Linked DNA regions of Homo sapiens: region 2 is linked to region 1. The links are contacts of gene promoters, found by promoter capture Hi-C in human tissues and cell types (Jung and others, 2019). All regions are on one chromosome and are shown on one strand. Each heading gives the region's core, a stretch centred on a gene start or on the middle of the fragment in contact. The rest is flanking DNA. Distances are from core to core; before and after follow the strand shown.

Region 1 (7,788 bases), core at 1,515-4,014:
AGAGACGGGGTTTCACCACGTTGGCCAGGCTGGTCTGGAACTCCTGACCTCAGGTGATCCGCCCGCCTCGGCCTCCAAAAGTGCTGGGATTACAGGCATGAGCCACTGTGCCCTGCCCCGTGAGATTCTTTAAGGTGGAGTATTTGTGCATTTTACAGCAAGGAGTACAGAGACCTCGAATCACCCCAGGAAGCTCCAATTATGCCTGGACTCTACTTCCTTCTTGACAAGTGGAAGTCTAATTTGGAGACGGTGGTAGCTCAACCTGAGACTAGCCTAGGAGTGTGCCCTTCCTGAGGTCCACAAAGTCAGGAGCCGAGGGAGTCAGACAAAACTAGGTCAAGGTTGAGTCGGGAGTTGAGAACCAGCAGATACTCCCTAGTACTGACTGAAGAGATGTGAAGTTAGGTATGAGGCAAGAAGACAGAAGATGAGGCTGAGGACAGTTTCTGAGGCACTGAATTATATACTCTGGAACCTTATCAGTTACCTGTTGTGTCCCCAGTGGGCCAGGGTGGAGTGGGGAGCCTGTTCAGGCTCACTCTGAAATTGGGCTTTAGTTATTCTGAGAGATGGGTTTCCCTTCAGGGCCCAGCATTTAAATTGTCCATACTCAGAAAATAAATACAATTAATCCTCGTGAATATCGACTTGCAGACAAATTCCTTACCTAGGAAAACAGACCAGTTCTACTTTTCATTGCATTATTTCAAAAATTAGATTTGTTCATTCTTGGATTCATCTTTGATTCTTCCTGCTCCCTCTTCCTCTCATGGTCCAAGAAGTGATGCCAAATTTATGTCCTGGAAATTCCTCAAGGCCATGTCCTCCTCTCCATTTCTCCTGCCTCTGTTTCATTTCAGCTTTCCTCATCTCTCATCCATGCTGCGTCCTTAACGCCTCACTGCAGGCAATGGTACCCTCCTACAATATACTCCATGTTGCAGCCAGAGGGACCTTCGTAAATACAAATATGATTATGTTTCTCCCCAGCTTAAAATCCTTTTGTGTTTCCCCATAGTCCACAAGGGAACGAAGAAACACCACCAACAGCGTCCACATGGCCTTCACGACATGGCCCTGTGGACACATCAGACGTTGTCTTGCAGTGCCTCATCCACACTATCTGTACCACTGCAGGCCTGGATACGTCATGGTTTTCATGGTGCTATCTTGTGCCTCTTTGCACCTGCACGCACTGTGTTTCCTACATGGGATATCTGTGTTTACAACCAAACTCCCAGGGGCCAAATTATATCCTTTGTAAAGGACTTCAAACCACCAGGCATTTGCTGGAAGTTTCACGGAGGAAAACAAGCATTTTTCATCTTTTAATCTGTTTTGCTGGTCAAAGAGGAAAAGGAGTGGATGGACAAAGTGGGGCCCAAAGTCTGGATCTAGTTCTGACCAACAAGGAGAAATTGATGCACAATGGGGAAGTGACCTTGGCATTTTCAACTGGCAGAGCCGGTAAGTTTGGGCACAGTTCAAATGTGAGTCTGTAGCCACTAGAGAGAGGGGTTTCAAAGTCATGGAGAAAAGATGGGGGTGAATCCTGCACCAAGACTTATTGAGGAGAGTTCTTGGGAACAGTTACTTTTAGGATTCCACAGGGAAATCACTGAGCGAGTTTTACAAAATACTGCTGCTGGGTTCCCTCCTCCAAGAGATCTTTACTTAATTGGTTTGGGGTGCAGAGTGGGAATGTGCATCTTTAAAAGCAGAATTCCCAAACTGGAGAGCTCTGTGAGAGCTTCCTGCAGGAGACATTATTTGAACTGAATTTTGAAAGACAAGCTTGCATGCCAGGAACCCCATGTATATGAACAGAGGATATGAAGGAATGTAAATAATTTGCTATGGCTCTAAAGAAAAGAAGGGAGAAATCAAGACGTGAAGAGGCTTACACTCCTTGCTCAATAGTTTCTAATTTATCTTTTTGGATAAGAGGATGTTATAAAGGATTTTAAACTGAGGTATAAAATAATTAGAATTGGAATGTTTACCTGAACTTCAGAGTAGGCAATAGGTTGGCATGGATCAGAACTGTAGGTAGGAAAATTAATTGTTTAGGAGAGACATGAGACATGATAGAGGTGACAGAGTATGGACAGGAGGAACACAAAAGTGATAGAAGTAACAGGACTGTTGATCATTTAGTTAAAAGAACTGCGGAGGGACACACCCAGGTTTCTGAGAGATGTCCAGTAGTACACAGGTAACATCTACGGCTCGAGACAGGTTAGAGATTTTGAAGAAATAAGTTAAAAGTTGAAACATGAACCTATGGATATAGTGGAGGTCATACAAGAAGATCATATTATAATGAAAAGAAGAGGGCTTAGAATGGTAGGAAAGGAATCAGGATACCAAGCAAAGGAGTCAGGAAAGAAGGGAAGGGTGCTCTGGAAATCCTGGGAAGGTCAAAGAAGAAAGGGCTAAATGTCGCCAACAAACAAAATGAAATAAGACCTGGGATGTATTTTTTGGCCAAGGCAATTAGAAAATGATTAGTATCCTTATCAGGAGCAATTTCAGAGAATGTTTGGGTGGACGTCTAACTACAGTGGAGTCAAACGTGAATCAACGGTGAAAAAAGGACAATAGCCAATGTGTACACTTTTTATAAAAACCACCCTCCAAGGACCAGGCACTGGCCCTCTCTCCGGTGCCCACAGACATCCACACAGGCCCAAAGAATCAGGGATTGCACAAGCCAGAGCAATCGAACGGTTCTGAGTCATCTGCCGGAAGCCTTGCCCTCAATCAAGGCGGACGTGAAGCATCTACAAAGGAGGAATAGTCAAAGCAGCAGCGGCGGCGGCGGCGGCGGCAGCAGCAGCAGCAGCAGGAGGTGGGGGCCTCTGCCAGGTACCGGGCGGGGCAGGCACGGAGGTGCCCAGGTTCCCGCGGAGGCCACCTCTTCCCTGGAGTGCGTGAGAGAGGGGAAGGGAGGAAGGCCAGAGCAGGAATCAGAGCGAGGCAAAGGCGGGCAGGAACTAGGAGAATGACGGCGGGAGGCGGCCGGGAAAGAGAGTCGCGGGGCTGTGGGGGTCGCCCTGGCACCAGCCGGGGTCCCAAGCCCCACCGCGAGACCCGGCGAAGGCCGAGGGCCGGGTCCCGAGAACAGGTGCGCCCAGACCCGCCCTGAATAGGAAGCTGCCCCTGGAGAGGGAGCGTCTGTTTCTAGGCTTGCGATTTGCTGCGCTGTGATTTGCTGCCGGATGGGAGCGGGGGGTGACGCGAGCAGTGAGTTTGGAAGCGCCGGAAGCTTGGGCGGGAGCCCCGGGAGGGCGAGTGGGAGGAGCCGCCGCTGCGGAGGAGGCTCCGGGAGTGCGGGTGGCGGGGCCTGGAATTTCCGTGGCGCCTGGGGCAGATCGGGGAGGCGCCGAGTCCCTGCTCCCCTGGCGCCCAAGCTTGCCCCTGTGCTTACAGCCTATTGGTTGCACCTTCTCCTTCCCTTCCTGTCCCCCCCCTCCGTTCTTTCCACCCCTGCCTTCATCTTTCTGTATCTTTCATATTCTCTTCTTCATTGTCTGCTTCCTCTCAAATGGGATGGGGTTGGGGGTGCTTCTTCACCTACGCCCCTCTCTGTTGCAGCCACCGGCGTTACTTTAACCAATTCCTCACTTTCCAGACACTCTCAGTCCTCTGGCTGCTGCTTCACTCCTGAGACCTCTCCATTCCAAAGGGCCTCACCCAGGGCTGCTCTCCGGGCCCCTCCCGCTTCCCTGCCTCGGGCTCTGCGTAGACCGCGCCCTCTTCCCTGGGTCCACTCGCAGGGGCAGACTCGTCTCCCCAGTTCTCCCAGCACACCCTGATGGCTGGGTCTCAGTCTCCGTTTCGCGCGCGCGCTCTCCCCTCGCCCTCCTCTGTCTCTTCCTTTTACTACCTCCAGATATTGGAAATTCCACAGAAATAGGTGGATTTCTTCCCTTGTGCCTCCACTAGATGTTCTGTGTAGTTTCATCCATTCTCATGGAACCTCTCGGAATCGGGATGCTGATGGCTCCAGGTCTCTGGCTCTAGACAGTCTACTCATCCCCGTCCCTAACTGTTTACAAACATCCTTGGCTGTCTTTGTTACAGGTTCACCTGGTATGGTGTGTTCCACGCATCTCAAATGGAACAAGTCATATTCCCCATTCCAGCCTGACTCCTCATTTAAAATTCCAGTGGTTCACGACCCACCCTGAGTATGAATTTATAACAGCTAGGCGCCTCGGGACTGGGCCCTCCTGTGCTCTGTCCCTATGTGAGCAGTCACTGCCTGGCAATTCCAGCCCCCACTTCTCTATTGCAGACAATCCCTCTGCTTTCAGCAGTCCCTGGCCCATGGTGGTGGCCTACGCGCCAGCTCCCCAGCCTCTTTTCATACCAAATACTGAGCCGGGTTATCTTTCTAAAGCCCCAATGCACTCATATGAGACGTTTGTTTAAAAACCATGCATGGCTTTCCAGACCATAATCTCAAGTTCAAACTCCTAAATGTGGCATAAGGGTCCGTCCTATCTCACTACCACGTGGCTCACAGGAAACCATAGAAACCCACCCCAGGGGCACCACACAAACCATGCCCTTTGTCTTCCTGCCACATTCTTGGCACCTGCTAATTCCTCAGCCTATTATTTGCATCCCCCATTTCACCACCTACGGAATGCCTGCCCGGCTTTTCTTTTTTCTTTTTTTTTTTGATATGTGGTTTTAATAAGTTTCATTACCTATTGAATAAATACAAAAGAACATTTAAAATGTGTATTGAATTATAAAGAACAGCAGTACAACCCATCACCCAGTTTAATAACTGGAATATTGTCATCGCTGGAGGCCGTGTTTCCCTACTGATCACACCCTCCTCCCTCATCACATCCGCTTCCCTCCCCTCTGTATCACCACCTTCCTGAGTTTCATGATAATAACGACATAGTTTTACTGTCTACACATGCATCCAGAATGATTTAGTTTAGCCTGGTTTTGAACTTTACGTATATGGAATAATACTGTATTACTCTGTGGCTTAATCCTTTAATACATTATTTGTGGGAATTGTCCATGTCAAAAACTAAAGAACTTATAGATATGGTTCTTTCAGTTTTTATTGTTCTGTATTCCATTATACTAATATACTACAATCCATTTATCCATTCTGTTTTTGATGGACATTTGGGTTGTTTCTTTTTTATTATTATACTTTAAGCTCTAGGGTAAAAGTGCACAATATGCAAGTTTGATACATAGGTATACATGAGCCATGTTGGTTTGCCGCACCCATCAACTAGTCATTTACATTAGGTATTTCTCCTAATGCTATTCCTCTCACATCCCCCCCGCCCACCCCACAGGCCCCGGTGTGTGATTTTCCCCACCCTATGTCCAAGTGTTTTCATTGTTCAGTTCCCACCTATGAGTGAGAACATGTGGTGTTTGGGTTTCTGTCTTTGTGGTAGTTTGCTGAGAATGATGGTTTCCAGCTTCATCCATGTCCCTACAAAGGACATGAACTCATCGTTTTTTTATGGCTGCATAGTATTCCATGGTGTATATATGCCACATTTTCTTAATCCAGTCTATCATTGATGGACATTTGGGTTGGTTCCAAGTCTTTGCTATTGTGAATAGTGCCGCAATAAACATACATGTGCATGTGTCTTTGTAGTAGCATGATTTATAATCCTTTGGGTGTATACCCAGTAATGGGGTGGCTGGGTCAAATGGTATTTCTAGTTCTAGATCCTTGAGGAATCGCCACACTGTCTTCCATAATGGTTGAACTAGTTTACAGTCCTACCAAGAGTTTAAAAGTGTTCCTTTTTCTCCACATCCTCTCCAGCACCTGTTGTTTCCTGACTTTTTAATGATCACCATTCTAACTGGTGTGAGATGGTATCTCATTGTGGTTTTGATTTGCATTTCTCTGATGACCAGTGATGATGAACGTTTTTTCACGTGTCTGTTGCCTGCATAAATGTCTTCCTTTGAGAAGTGTCTGTTCATATCCATTGCCCACTTTTTGATGGGGTTGTTTGTTTTTTTCTTGTAAATTTGTTTGAGTTCTTTGTAGATTCTGGATATTAGCCCTTTGTCAGATGGGTAGATTGCAAAAATTTTCTCCCATTCTGTAGGTTGCCTGTTTACTCTGATGGTAGTTTCTTTTGCTGTGCAGAAGCTCTTTAGTTTAATTAGATCCCATTTGTCTACTTTGGCTTTTGTTGCCATTGCTTTTGGTGTTTTAGTCATGAAGTCCTTGCCCATGGCTATGTCCTGAATGGTATTGCCTAGGTTTTCTTCTAGGGTTTTTATGGTTTTAGGTCTAACATTTAAGTCTTCAATCCATCTTGAATTAATTTTTGTATAAGGTGTAAGGAAGGGATCCAGTTTCAGCTTTCTACATATGCCAGTTTTCCCAGCACCATTTATTAAATAGGGAATCCGTTCTCCATTTCTTGTTTTTGTCCGGTTTGTCAAAGATCAGATGGTTGTAGATGTGTGGTATTATTTCTGAGGCCTCTGTTCTGCTCCATTGGTCTATATCTCTGTTTTGGTACCAGTACCATGCTGTTTTGGTTACTGAAGCCTTGTAGTGTAGTTTGAAGTCAGGTAATGTGATGCCTCCAGCTTTGTTCTTTTTGCTTAGGATTGTCTTGGCAATGTGGGCTCTTTTTTGGTTCCATATGAACTTTAAAGTAGTTTTTTCCAATTCTGTGAAGAAAGTCATTGGTAGCTTGATGGGGATGGCATTGAATCTATAAATTACCTTGGCCTGCCCAGCTTTTAAAGCCAGCTTCTCTGGAAAGTCTTTCCAGGATTCTGTAGAGGTTTTCTTCTTATTATTTATTTATTTACTTGTTTTTTTCTGAGGATTTCCATAGCACTTTCAAAATTATCCTGTTATAGAGCACCTGACTGGCTTGAAACTACGCATTTCCATATGTGTGTCTTCTTTAGGGTGTAAGCTTCTGGGCAGTGATTAACGCATTTATTTTTCATTTTCTCCTCCCAAAACAGGTAGTGAACATTCTACATAAATGCTCTTTGAATAAACTCACTTTTGGATGTTGTATGGGGATGGGGGAGTGGAGGAGGTAGTTCGTAGGTATTTGGGGCTCCCAGGAGGAGGACAATATCATATACTTGGAAACGTAAGGCTTGCTTTTGAGGCTGACTCTCACTTTTTCTGTGAGTCCTGTGGACAGTATTTAATTGCCTCTGTCTTTGTTTGTTTGCCTGAAAAGGAAAAACTAGTTTAATGCCAATTTATTTGGTTGGCTGGAAATAAAAACTTCTGATTCCTGTGTTTTTATAACACAATCTAATTGTGGCATTGGCACCTAAAGTATTATTTTGTATTAAAATTAATTGCTTTTTAGAAATATTGGGTAAAGTCCATTTTGTTTAAAGTTCCAACCCTTTCAAAAGCTATAAAGTCCAAATGAGATTGGAACACCAGGAAGACAGGGGGAAGAGTCATTCTGTTACCTGGTTTTCTCCCCTGCCTGACTTCTGACCTGAGCAGAGGCCAAGGGGGTGCACTTGTGTGTGAGTGTGTGCACATGTATTGTGGCTGCAGGGTAGATATTGATGGGAAATACCACATACTGACCAGCACCTGAGTGTTGAAAAGGAATGGAAGTGGGGACATGAGATGAAGGAAGAGGAAAGATGGAAGAAATCAGAAGTAGCAGTTTGCAACTAAGAGCAGTTAAAATGTAAAGATGAGATTGATGCAATAGTTCAGTTCATTCAGAACTATTGAAACTATTGATTCAATAGTTCAGACAGGATGATTAA
Region 2 (7,788 bases), core at 2,378-4,877, 1.1 Mb before region 1:
AGTTATGTTATTTTATGATGGAGATTAGAGGAGCCTCCCTTCTGATGAGATCCAGGTCTTGACCTGATGGCATAGAGTTAATAGTACTGGCTCTTGTTCAAACTCTGATCCTGCTACTTTTTTTTTTTTTTTTTTTTGAGATGAAGTTTCGCTCTTGTCACCCAGGGTGGAGTGTGATGGCTCAATCTTGGTTCACTGCAATCTCCGCCTCCCAGGTTCAAGTGATTCTCCTGCCTCAGCCTCCTGAGTAACTGGAATTACAGGCACCCACCACCACGCCTGGTTAATTTTTGTATTTTTAGTAGAGAAGGGGTTTCACCATGTTGGCCAGGCTGGTCTCAAACTCCTGACCTCAAATGATCCACCCACCTCGGCCTCCCATAGTGTTGGGATTACAGGCATGAGCCCCTACACCCAGCCTGATCCTGCTGCTTTTTAAACTAAATGGCCTTGGGCGCACACTCTGTGACTCAGTTTAATCTTTATCTTTGAAACAGGGGTAAGTTCTTACTGCACAGGGTATTGGGAAGATTAAGCTAAATATTGTATCTTAAGCTCTTGGAAGAGTGCCTATCACAAAGAAGGCACTACTTAAATGTTAACTATTATTATTGTTACTTGGAAAAGGAAAACGCTAGAATAATAAAGCCTACTTGCTCTGAGGTGTGCACATGTGGTTTTTTGATTAATTTTTTTTATGTATGTAGGTCTTTCTTATTTCAGGCAGGATCTCAGTTTTAATAGCTGCTGTGTAGGTGGGTCACAGTTTCTTTGGATAGCCCAGCTGGTAGTTTTCTCATTTGGGAATCAAGCCATACCTTCTAAGTAGAGTGCTTTCCTGGTTCTTAACTCTTTGTGATAGAGCCCTGATGTGCCCAGGTTGCTCTGAGTAGAAGCACTTAAATCTCCCATTCTGTTGCAGCTTATGGGACTGGGCAGTGGTGTAGCTAGTGGTAGCTTTTGTGGTCACCTATGCAGCTCACTGCCTAGTGGCCATATTAACATGTTGAATTTATGTTCTCACGATAGACATTCCTAGTTCTACATAGCTCACACAGGACTGCCCTTGCTTGTAGCCTCGTTAATGTGGTTTCCTCCTCCTTGTTTCCAGCAGAAACAGCTTACGGTCTAGAAGGAGGAAAGGAAGCCAATACAACTTGATGTTAAATCATTTTCTCTTAGTTGTCCAAAGGGAGTATTTAGTGGGATGCTTCATTTGAAATGGAATTTGTCTTCTTCAAAGTGGTTGCCAAATGAAAGGATGCACTAGATGCAGAGGCCGCCTGGTGAGAAAGGAGGAGGTATAAGGTCGTCTTCTGGCCATTCTTCCAGCAAGATGTTTTGAGGGTCCTCCCAAGTACTCAACGTGGGGTTATATCAGTGAACAAAATAGAAAAATCCTTTCCTTTATGGAGCTTACAATCTAGAGACAAAGATAGAGAAAAAATAAGAAAATTCCATGGTACAGTAGGCCCTTCTTACTGCGAGTTTCCCATTTTCAGATTCAACTAACCGGGGATCAAAACCTGCCAACACGGAGGGCTGAGTGTACTATGGCATTTTATGTCAGGGACTTGAGCATCCGTGGATTTTGATACCTGCTGGGGTCCAGGAGCTAATCCCCAGTGGATATGGAGCGCCGACCATATGTTGGTGATCACCTCACACTTCTCAGAACCTTTCCACACATCCCATTTCACTCACCTTAAAAGCCAGAGTCCTTACAAGGCCTGAGGGTCCCACAGGATCTGCTGCTTACCCCATATCCCCTGCCCCCTTACCTTCTGACCTCATTGCCAGTCACTGTCTCCTTATTATCAGTGTTCTCAAGTCCCTCGGACATGCCAAGTGTGCTCCTTTTACAAATTTGAGACAGGGTCTGGCTGTATTGCCCAGGCTGGAGTGCAGTGGTGTGATCAAAGCTCACTGCAACCTCGACCTTCTGGGCTCAAGTGGTCCGTCCACCTCAGCCTCCCGAGTAGCTGGAACTATAGGCACGCACCACCACGCCCAGCTAATTAAAAAATTTTTTTATTAGTAGAGTTGGTGGTCTCACTATGTTGCCCAGGCTGATCTCGAACTTCTGGGCTCAAACAGTCCTCCCACCCCAGCCTCCCAAAGTGCTGGGATTACAGGCATGAGCCACCATGCCTAGCTAAGGCATGCTTCTCTAAGGGTCCTAACTCTGGGTACTTCCTCTGCCTGGCAGCATCTTCTTCCAGATAAATCCTATCTGCCAACTTCTCCGGTTTTTCCTTTCTAAATGTGGTCTTTTCAGTGGGCACCACTCTCACCAACCTATTTAAATTACAATCCACCACCTTCCCAGCAGTCTTGACCCCCTTTCTCAAGCTGTTTTTTTTTTCTCTGTAGTGCTTACCAATTTTTTTAACATATAATTTATTTATTTGTAAAGAAAGCTTAATAGGGGAGGGATCTTCATTTTGTTTTCTGAAGTATATTAAGGGCTCACCTAGAACGGTAATTGGCACCTCTAGTAGATATTCAGTAAACATGTTGAATGAATGAAAATGAAAAAAAGTACAATGGAAAAAATAAAGAAGGGTTGCATTAGTTTCCTGTGGCTGCTGTAACATATTAGCAAACCCTTGGTGGCTTAAAACAATAGAAATTTATGATCTCACGGTATATATTGCACATATAACTATTCATCCATCTAATATATGGAGGTGTGTGTGTATTGTATTAAAAATTGTTTTCATAAATGGAATGTGTCATGCTGCAGTTTGCATTTGTATCAAGTCAGATTGATACATATGGATCTAGTTCCTTCATTTTAACTGCAGCTCTAAGCAGCTGGTTCTCTTTCTTTCCTGGTTTCAGAATATGTAAATCCCAGAGAAGTCCTCTGATTAACCTAGCTTGGGTCCCATGCTAGCACCTGTTGGATCAGTCTGTGGCTTCAGCAGATAGGACACTCAGATTGCTCAGACCTGGAGTGCATGCTTACCCACGAATCCAGAGCATCTGGGTACTTTGTTTGCAGTTCCCCTTAGGATCATGAGTTTGAAGGAGAAAGGATTTGGGGCAAAAAACACAGATTTCTACTGAGGCTTCAAGTTTGGGCTTGGATATTACATCCTCTGGGAATCCTTTTCTGACCCCTGGGATTCTGTTCTGTGTCCTTGCACTTCCTATTCTTGTAACAGTTATCATGTAGTATCTTAATTACCCTCTCCTCTTGATGTGTACTCATTCAGGGCAGAGACTGTGTCTGTCTTGTTTTCCTTTTGTGTCTCAGGAAATAAAAGGCCTGCCACACACCATTAAGTAGATTCTCAACACATATTTTTGAATGAATGATTCCACTAGCTAGCAGAGGTTTCAAACTCACTTTCTATAAACAGGTTCCCATCCACTTCCTATGAATGCCGTAGGAATCCTGTGTAGCGTGGTGCTTTTGCACCTACTTTCAGGCCCATTAACATTCTATCTCTTTTTACATCTTTCTTTATATGAGTGGTTTGGCCCTGTTTGGAAGTTTCTTTTTCTTATTTAATGGTGAAAATTCACAGAAAGATAAAATTGGTAAAATGCAAACTCAGACTTTCTCAGTAAAGTCTTTAGAGATAAGTCCTGCCCAGCCTTTCTCACCCCAGTATACCTTTAGCTTTCATGTGTGCACAGTAGTTTCTCCTAAGCTCAAATATTCCATCAGCAGAACCTTTTTTTTTTTTTTTTTTGAGACACAGCCTCTCTCTGTTGCCCAGGCTGGACTGCAATGGCACGATCTCAGCTCACTGCAACCTCTGCCTCGTGGGTTCAAGCAATTCTGCTGCCTCAGCCTCCCGAGTAGCCGGGATTACAGGCACCCACCACTACGCCCAGCTAATTTTTGTATTTTTAGTAGAGTCGGGGTTTCACCATATTGGCCAGGCTGGTCTGGAACTTCTGACCTCAAATGATCCACCTGCCTTGGCCTCCCAAAGTGCTGGGATTACAGATGTGAGCCACCATACCTGATCTAGCAGAACATATCTTAGGCAGATTTACTTCTGGATACTTTTAGCATCAGGAGAGTATGAATTTTAGTGGATATAAAATGTGAATGAAGCTGGGTATGGTGGCTCATGCCTGTAATCCAGCGCTTTGGGAGGCTGACGTGAGAGGATCAACCTAGCCTAGTAGTTTGAGACCATCCTGGGCAACATGGCAAGACCTTGCCCCTACTTTATTATCTAAAAATATTTTTTTTAATAAAAAATAAAATGTGAATGATTTGATTTGGAAATGGTAGTGTTAGTAGTAGTACTAGTAATAGTAATAGCAGTTAACATTTATTGAGTGCTTTTTCTGTGCCAGGCATGTAGAAGTAGGTACCATCTTTATACGTGTTATACAGATGAGAAAACTGGATCTTAGATCAGTGATCTATTCAAGTTATCTCAGCTCCTGAGTGGTGGTGCTGGGCTATGAATCTGGACACTGAACTCAGAACCATACACCTAAGGACTACGTTCTACTGCCTTGTGTAATTAGGAACAGAAACCTGGGGTTTGGTAAAAGAAAAAGAGATCAGACTGATCACAGAGAAGCAGTGAAGTTTCTGCCCTAAAGCTTTGGTAAAGATAAATAGGGAGAATTAACCAAAGTTTTAGAACTGTACTCCCATTGCCTCTGTGAGGAGAGAAAACCAAGATGTGTGGAGGTGGGGCTGAAGCCATGTGCTTTAGCATAAATTGGCACTGTGTTACCTACAATATTGGGAAGAGCATTTGAGAAATACAGGGTGGTCAGTGCGTTTTCTGCTTCCCACATAAAAGTTGGTCTTTAGCCCTGAGATCCTGGCTGTGGGAGGAGTCATTTAACCAGGAAGGCATTGAACATCTGGATAAATATTTAGACATAAAATAAGTTTTACATAAAATACTTACATGAAGCAAAGCACAATGAATTTGTAAGCATTTCACTGAAACTGGGAGAGGCAGCCTGAAAAGTTTGTAGCAGACAGGCAATGGAATCTGATTCTACTGTACCATTAATTGAAGATGTGTACAAGGTCAGTGTAAAGGTCTTGTTCTTTTTCTTTATTTGTGCTATTTTAAATCAGTATATACAATGGCTTTTATATGTTCAGTTTAGATCTTAGTATCTGTCTCTTGACCGTGTATTTACTCGATAGCTCTGAATTCTCTTTCTGTCGGAGAGAATTATTCCTTATGTTTTCAGGAATAAAACTCCTGCATTGGAGGAGATTACTGATATCACTAAACCTGATGGAATAATCTATGTTCTTTCCAGCCTGTCTCCTATGCTAGGTTACTGTACATACCCTCCAGGCAGGGACATTTTCCTGCTTTTATAAAGTACTTGGCTCAAATACTAAGTACAGACATGCATCACTTAATGACAGGGATGTATCTTGAGAAATGTGTTGTTAGGCAGTTTCTTCATGGTGCAAACATCAGTGTGTACTTACACAAACCTAGATGGTGTTAGCCAACTACACACCTAGGCTATTGCTCCTAGGTTACAAACCTGTGTAGCATGTTACTGTACCGAATACTGTGGGCAGTTGTAACAAAATGGTAAATATTTGTGTATCTAAACATAGAAGGCAGTGTGTTGTGCTATGACATTATGATAGCTGCCATATCACTAGGTGATAGGACTTTTTCAGCTTCTTTATAATCTTGTGGGACTGCTGTGTGTGGTACGTTATTGACTGAAAGGTTGGTATGCGGCACATGACTGAATACTCTGTTGGTTTATATTTGGACTAACAGTGCTACTTTCATAGAATATCTGTTCCAAATTGGGATTATCTTATTTCTATCCATAGAAAGTAGTTATAGGATAAGTGGATGGTATTAAAATTAAGTTTTATCCCCCTTTAGGTTGCATCCCAGCGCATTAGCTCAGTGGACCTCTCGTGTTGTAGCCTGGAACATCTGCCTGCCAACCTCTTCTACAGCCAAGACCTCACTCATCTCAATTTAAAACAAAACTTCCTAAGGCAGAACCCTAGCCTTCCAGCTGCCAGGGGGCTTAATGAACTGCAAAGGTAAGCCTGCAGAAATGGGTAGATCATTAGGAAGGGGTGGGGGCAGAATGAACTTCTGCTTGTTATCTCTTGAATATTCTCATGAAAAAAGCTAGTGTGTAAACTTTCTCCTTCAGATAACAGGGTAATAGGACTTTGTTTATTAGTGAAGACATTACCAATTCTCAATCTGAAATTTTTTTTAAGGTTCTTGCTTTTGAAACTAATGATTTATGATATTTATTAACTGGATAGAGTTGTGTAAGAACAATTCTCCTTAAACAACTTTTATTCCTATCTAAAAATGCATGTGCAAAAAATTAATAACATTTGGTGTGTTACTTCTGAACTTCAGGTGTTTGTTCAGATTAAATTGTTTCTTTTGAAATTTATGAAAGGTCATTTTTTCCCATAAAAAGATATTTCCTTAGAAATTTAAGAACCAGCGTTTAAATCAACTTACATCATGTCATCTGGGTGATTAGTGTGTGGGTTTCAGGAGTCACATGTTAAATAAATAGAACCTGCTCCTTTATTTTTTATTTTTTTGAGACAGAGTCTTGCTCTGTCTCAGGCTGGAGTGCAGTGGCATGATCTCGGCTCACTGCAACCTCCTCCTCCTGGGCCCAAGTGATTCACCTGCCTCAGCCTCCCGAGTAGCTGGGATTACAGGCGCCCACGCCCTCTTAATTTTTGTATTTTTAGTAGAGATGGGGTTTTACCATGTTGGCCAGGCTGGTCTTGAACTCCTAACCTCAAGTGATCTGCCCTTCTTGGCCTCCCAAAGTGCTGTGATTATAGGCGTGAGACACCACGCCTGGCCTAGAATCTGCTCATTTAAACTAGAAGAGAGGGACTTGACTTGCATGTCTCCAAAACAGATTTAAGAATTTACCACATTCACTTCCTTTCCTCTTTGGAGCAGTGATCAGTCTTCATTCTGTGGTAAATTAAACCTTTGATACTTATATATTTGTTGCAAATATGTAAGACTATGTAACTGCAAAGAATATAACTTTTAAATAAATAATTGCTAGTTCATTTGTTTTTACATGACTGATATGATCAGGAATTAAAATGTGATAACCATTGTGATTCTGTTTATGGTTTTTAACATCCAGAAAAAATAATCCAATAGTTGCTTATAAAGTTTGTGGATGTAATTGGAAAATGGAAGAGTATTTTAATTGTCTTTTCAGGTAATTGTGAATATCCTTCCTTGATACTATACCAAAACTTGACAAGTGGTCATTTCTTAAATGTTAGTTCTAAAATGGAATCTAAAACCCTATTCGTGAGCTTTTTGAATTCTTTAACGGTAAGATCCATTGATCTGACTTGCAGTTTGATTTGACTCTTTACCCATGCATCACTTTATTGCATTAAGTGTTGGTCATTTGGAGAGTACTACTCCGTTGTGTAACACAGATACTCCAAATGTTAATGTATTTTATTATGGAATTTTAAGAATTCACATTTGTTAATATCACCACTGATCTTTTTTTTTTTCTTTTTTTGAGATGGAGTCTCACTCTGTCGCCCAGGCTAGAGTGTGGTGGCACAATCTCGGCTCACTGCAACCACTGCCTCCCGCGTTCTAGTGATTCTCCCGCCTCAGCCTCTGAAGTAGCTGGGATTACAGGCGCTCCCCCAACACCTGGCTAATTTTTTTGTATTTTTAGTAGAGATGGGGTTTCACCATGTTGGCCAGTCTGGTCTCGAACTCCTGACCTGAAGTGATCCGCCCACCTTGACCTCCCAAAGTGCTGGGATTACAGGTGTGA

The links. The method cuts DNA at HindIII sites, captures the fragments that hold promoters and counts their contacts. A contact is called where the count stands out against the background at its distance.
Region 2: a fragment that was not itself captured here is called in contact with the fragment with the promoter of SERPINB8 in region 1 in 1 of the 25 tissues and cell types used here (hippocampus).

Annotation. Positions count from the first base shown.
Region 1 is chr18:63,967,317-63,975,104 of GRCh38, forward strand. It overlaps SERPINB8 (serpin family B member 8), which reads left to right and starts at 2,765. Exons shown (of 7, transcript NM_002640.4): 1 at 2,765-2,854. It overlaps LOC105372165 (a long non-coding RNA gene), which reads right to left and starts at 3,188. Exons shown (of 3, transcript XR_935576.3): 1 at 2,007-3,188; 2 at 671-957. It also overlaps a transcript of HMSD not described here. RefSeq lists enhancers at 2,597-2,646, 2,677-2,846, 3,139-3,433 and silencers at 2,907-3,106, 3,117-3,176, 3,247-3,466. The HindIII fragment of the contact is 6,523 bases long and covers 1-5,184 here.
Region 2 is chr18:62,854,577-62,862,364 of GRCh38, forward strand. It overlaps PHLPP1 (PH domain and leucine rich repeat protein phosphatase 1), which reads left to right. Exons shown (of 17, transcript NM_194449.4): 4 at 5,859-6,025. Among named protein-coding and RNA genes, the nearest start is that of PHLPP1, 140 kb to the left of the region's middle. The HindIII fragment of the contact is 5,182 bases long and covers 1,037-6,218 here.